Linked DNA regions of Homo sapiens: region 1 is linked to region 2. Evidence: promoter capture Hi-C in 16 types of primary human blood cells and fetal thymus (Javierre and others, 2016). All regions are on one chromosome and are shown on one strand. The core of a region is centred on a gene start or on the middle of the fragment in contact, and the rest is flanking DNA. Distances in the headings are between cores, read along the strand shown. Region 1 overlaps NEO1 (neogenin 1). Region 2 holds the start of NPTN (neuroplastin).

Region 1 (2,700 bases), core at 172-2,671, 360 kb after region 2:
TGCAAGCCACCACTCCCAGCCCCAAATATAACTTTTAAAAGCCCTATTTCTTCAAAGAATAGATGATTTACAGATTAATATTTTTCACTATGAGTTTATTCTGCAAACATACTGCCAACTATTGAGGTTACAGCTCTAAAGTGAAGCTGTTCGTTTATGCAACAGGACAATACGTTTCCTGTGTTTCCATGTGATAGCTGAAAACTTTTAACACACTAGTAGGAAAATGAGCAAATTAAGTACATCCTTAAATTTACTCAACTCTTCCTAAAATACTAGAATTCTCTTAGTATAAAATGTAAGGAAGCCTGGTGAAATGCAAATATCCTAAGGGAAAACACAATCTCATTTGTTATCTAATGGGTTAGGATTGAAGTAAAAACATTTTCTTAAAATGGTTGGCAAAGAAAGCAAACTCAAGGTCTATTTAAACTTTGATGTACTGTATTTCTAACTCTTCAAATCCAACCCTTCTCTCTGTACAAAGTCCAGTGAACTGTGCAGAAGACAAAAAGACACTGAGGCCAAGCCCAGTTTGTGGAGAATTTATAACTCCATTATTCATATAGGAGAGAAATAGGAGGCCAAAATAGACAGAGATTTGAAATGGTTATGCATATCCCTAGACTAGGAAAGCCCAGGGGGTAGCAGAAAGGCATGTCTAAAAGTCAGCAAAAACCAAACAGAATCTCAAACCCAGATAGCCTGTTCTCTCTTTAATTTGCTTAGTCATCTTTTCCCTCTCGTGTCCACTTACAAAGACCTTAAGGATTATTTCAGTGGAAGATTTTATAAGACGCTAATTTGCTTGCAAGCAAACTGCAGAGGCAGCTTTGGGGTCACCCAGCAAAGTGTTCAGGCTCCAAGCAAGCATGGCATTGGAACTGCCTGGTCAAGGGCAGGTCACTTCATCTTTTCTATCTCAGTTTACCAGTAAAGCAGGATTAATGGCAATAATCCCTTACATCTACCCAGTGCTTTGTAATTTATCATGTTTTCCCTGTAGTATCCTGTTATTTGCTAATGTTCTTGTTCAGTAATTAAAAACACACAACTTGTCAGCTGAAATAGCAAACACTGAATTCCAAATGTAGTTGCTCACTGTGTTTTGTAAATATGTCAATTCAGGCACTCAATTCTTTCCTTGGGAAGTAAAAGCAGCCATGTGACATGGCTTCTGACAACACATACCTAATTCAAAGGTGGTCCCATGGGCTGTCATACTCCATGTACTTGATCTTCGACCTTTGGTCACCATCACAGAGAATTCATAGAGTGTATTCGGCTTTAAACCAGTCACCAAATAACTCAAAGTGGTTGCATTTGCATTCTGAAAAAAACATGAATTGAGACTTTAAAATTAGAAAGTATCAATGATTAGCTTTTTTCAGCCAGGGCAAATGTGTCAGTACCTTGTACTTGGTGTTTGCTGGGATGTTGGTTTTCCATCGGACGGTGTAGTATCGGGAGTCTGTAATCTTCTGGTGCTTGGGCAGCGAGTTGTCTGCCCACGTAATCCTGATGGTGTCATGACTCAGAATGGAAGCCTGAACTCCCACTGGTGGCATCATGGGAGTGGGATCTGGCACTGGAGTGTATGGAGCATTAATAACAAATAAATCAACTTCAGAAGTGTCTGAGCAGAAAATAATTTAAAAAGGGAAGTGGCATTTTAATGTAAACAAAAATAAAATAAAAGGGAAATGCAGGGTAATATAATGGAATGAAAGGTGAGAAATGGAGAAAAAGAAAGAAAATTCAGAGTTAATAGATAACCACCATTCATTTAAAAGACTATTTCCACTTGTGTTCTTTCAGGAAAAAATTACAGAAAAATGTTAAGAGAAGCAGTAATAAACTATATTCTCTACTGCATTCTATAGGCATATTAAAATGTTATAATCCAGTGATTATATTAATGTATTCGTGCTTGAATTTTCTTAAAATAACTTGAAAATTCTACTTCCTGTTCAAAAAGCCTCATGAGGCCAGGTGCAGTGGCTCATGCCTGTAATCCCAGCACTATGGGAGGCAGAGGCGGGCAGATCACCTGAGGTCAGGAGTTCAAGACCAGCCTAGCCAATATGGTGAAACCTGTCTCTACTAAAAATACAAAAATTAGCTGGGCATGGTGGCAGGTGCCTGGGGTCCCAGCTACTCGGGAGGCTGAGGCATGAGAATCGCTTGAATCTGGGAGATGGAGGCTGCGGTGAGCTGAGATTGCACCACTGTACTCCAGCCTGGGTGACAGAGCAAGACTCTGTCTCAGAAAACAAAAAAACCCCAAAACCAAAAAGGCTCACGAAGACAAAAACTGCTTTTAGAATCAGGGGTACAATTTCTAAACAAGCAATACAAACCTCATGGTTTGAGATTTCAGTGAATGTGGCTGAATTTTTGGGACAAGAGTTATCTGTGCATATCACTATTCATGTAAGGGTCCAACACTCAAACCTGAGTCTTGAATGTCAGCCATGGGTATTGACGGTATCTGATACCCACAAAGGGTCAAGTTCAGACCTCCTGATGTCCTGGGTCTAATGGCAGTACAGTGACATAGCTGACACCCAAATAAAGCAAAAGGAACTCAAGGGTGTACTCTTCCTTCAGGAAAGGTAAGCTGACACCATGCTGGACTATCTACCATAGTTTCTTCCACAGAGTCAGAGAACAACCCAGTGATGAATTCCCATCAGTTAA
Region 2 (2,700 bases), core at 16-2,515:
AGTTTTCACTTCAATCAACAACATGCCATAGTGGTCCTGGCCTTTGCTAGAAATTTTGGTCTGGAACCACCAGCTGTTCAGTTCCTGTTGAAAGTTCCAGACCACTTTAGCTTGATAGAGATTGCGAGGGTCTCCTTCTTCCAGGTCCTCCAAACCCTCTCTTTAAATCAAGTCAGGCCACCAGGACTGTTTACTTGGCCCCTCAGAGTTTCCACAGACACTCCCAGGACGTCTGCTGTGAGTCAGGGATGAGCTAAGCCATAGAAATTCCTTTGCCAACCACAAGCCCTGAGGGTAGTACAAAAAATACCCCTAAAAAGAGCATTTCCCAAACTTCTATGCAAACAGTAGTAACCACACTGCCAATCACCCTCCAGAGTGCTTTGCTAGATCCTTTCCTATGGGGCCATTTGACCCTTCCTCACTCCTCTGCTAGCCTAGGCAGTGCACTCCATGAGGACGGGGACTACCTTTTCATGTGGGTTTCACTATGTGCCTGGCACACAGCACGTTCTCAATAAATGTTTTCCGCATTAAGACGCTTCTTAGGAGTCTTCATGTAAGTTCATACACGACTTCCTTGTAGAATTGTGTCAATGAACATGCAATTAGGCTAGCTGAACTTCAGGCCCTGAGAGTCTATGAAGCTAAAATAAGGCCCAGATGTGGGGTGGGAGGGGGAGTAGGCAGAGGCGGCAAAGGAGGACATTTCAGGCAAAGGGAGCAGATGTCCAGGCAGGAAAGCACAAGGTAACGGGGGCACAGGGGGCGCACCACTTTTCCTGGAAGGAAAAAACAGCAGATGAGAGAAGGAGGTTGGAGCCAGTTACCAGTAGAGGTCTATGTTCAAAGTCCAGAAGGAAGAAACAGCAGGACGGGGACAAAGAGAGGAAGGAGGAAAGGAGGCACGGTGTATGAAACTCTGTAGCCAAGAGCGCTAACAAATGAAAGGCAGGATGGGTGGAGGAAATGTACTGTGTTCCAAAGCTTCCTCTTATTTATGGGTGCTCCCGGGCCACAGAGGAGTAAACTGAAGGACTTCCCAGCTCCCCACTGCCCAGAGAGCTAGCGGAGTCCCGCCTCGCCCCGTCACATGGCCAGAGGCGCCCTCGGCACGTGACCTACCTCGCGCTAGGCCAATCAGCCTCTGCAGGGGCGGGGCCACCGAGTCCGCGGGGCGGGAGTCTCCGTCGGAGCCGCCTCTTCTCGCGATCCTTGCGGCGGTCGCTCCTCAGCCGCCCACGACCCGGAGCGAAGGTCTCGCGAGGCCTGGGCGCTGCGGCGGCAGGAGGAGGACGGGGAAGGACGGAGCCGAGCCGCGGCTGCCTCCCTCGCTCACTCCCTCGCGCACTCGCCCGCCCCCTCCCTCCCTCCCCTCCCTTCCCCGGCCCCGGCTCTGGCCCCGGCCCATTCGCTGTTGGGTCTTCTGCTAGGGAGGATGTCGGGTTCGTCGCTGCCCAGCGCCCTGGCCCTCTCGCTGTTGCTGGTCTCTGGCTCCCTCCTCCCAGGGCCAGGCGCCGCTCAGAACGGTAAGCGGGGCGCCGGGGGCGGGCCGGGCGGGGGTTGAGGGGCGCCGGGGCCGGAGGGGGCCCGGCTCTGGCCTGAGGAGACGCTGGAGCTCGGGGAAGGGGGCCGAGTGGGCGTCTGAGGGGCTGCGGGTCCGAGAGGAGGTACCGGCTGCGGGTTTGAGGAGGCGCGGGTGTGAGGACCGGAGGCTCCTATCCGAGCGGCGGGGGCGTCCGGGGTGAGCCCGAGGTGTTGCCCACTCGGAGGCTCCACGTCGTGGGGCTCGTCGTGCCGGGTCGGCGAGGGGACACGGAGGAAGCCGACGTGGGGAGCTGGAGTAGCGGGGGCGGATGAGGAGGGGGCGCAGCTCTTAGGGAGGGTGGCACAAGACCGGCGTTTGTGTTCCGGGCGACGGGGATGGTGGTGTCCGTCAGGCCCCCCGGGAGCTGGGGTCGTCCAGGATTCTACTGAGGCCCCGTAGGACTGGTGACATCCTTAAAAATAAGGGGGAAATTGGGGGGAAGAGAGTCCTGAGGAACACTAATGGTGAGCTGAGTACTAGAGACCAAAGGAGGGGGTAAAGAATCAGGGAACCTTGGATCTAGGGATAGAGGGAAGGTGGGTGGGAAGATGAGGGAGTGGGTTGACTGCAGTAGGGGACCTGGAGAGAGAAGCAGCAGTGTCTCCAAATGAGCTGGGGGAAGAGGGCTGGGTTTGCTAAAGAGGGTGGAGTGCTGGGCATTCTAGGGTAGTGGTTGGGAGAGCAAAAAGGAGTTTCTAAATAAGGAGAGGAAAATGAGCAGAGGATGGAGGGAAAGGGTTGGAACTGAGGTGGGGGAATATTTATTAGAGAAGTAAGGAGGCCTGGGTATAGAGATGGGGGTGGGGGAAGACGAAAAATAAGGGAAGGGAGTAAAATGCAGGAAGTCGGGGGTGTAATGTTGGTTTGCAGTGTGGAGGATAAATTAGGGAAGGGAGGAGTTGGGATGTGGCAAATGCTGTATGATATTGGTCGGGCCTTTGGGAAAACAGGGACACATAGCTGCAACTAATTGCAGTGGTGGGATTGAGGGCAGTGACTGGCGACAGGGAGATGGGGAAGTGGATTTTTGAGATTTAAAAGTTTCAAGACAGAAGAGACGTTATTTCCGAGGAACATGAAAGTGGCCCCTGGGAGGTGGTACAGTAGAAAGC

What was found. Contacts are between HindIII fragments. The CHiCAGO score rates a contact against its expected background, and 5 or more counts as called.
Region 1: a contact is called between a fragment that was not itself captured here and the fragment with the promoter of NPTN in region 2, in 1 of 17 cell types (neutrophils). The highest score is 6.4, in neutrophils.

Annotation. Positions count from the first base shown.
Region 1 is chr15:73,268,946-73,271,645 of GRCh38, reverse strand. It overlaps NEO1 (neogenin 1), which reads right to left. Exons shown (of 29, transcript NM_002499.4): 17 at 1,413-1,636; 18 at 1,192-1,330. Among named protein-coding and RNA genes, the nearest start is that of MIR12135, 30 kb to the left of the region's middle. The HindIII fragment of the contact is 4,228 bases long and covers 1-2,700 here.
Region 2 is chr15:73,631,954-73,634,653 of GRCh38, reverse strand. It overlaps NPTN (neuroplastin), which reads left to right and starts at 1,265. Exons shown (of 9, transcript NM_012428.4): 1 at 1,265-1,529. The coding sequence starts at 1,439. RefSeq lists silencers at 1,109-1,408, 1,489-1,748. The HindIII fragment of the contact is 2,824 bases long and covers 990-2,700 here.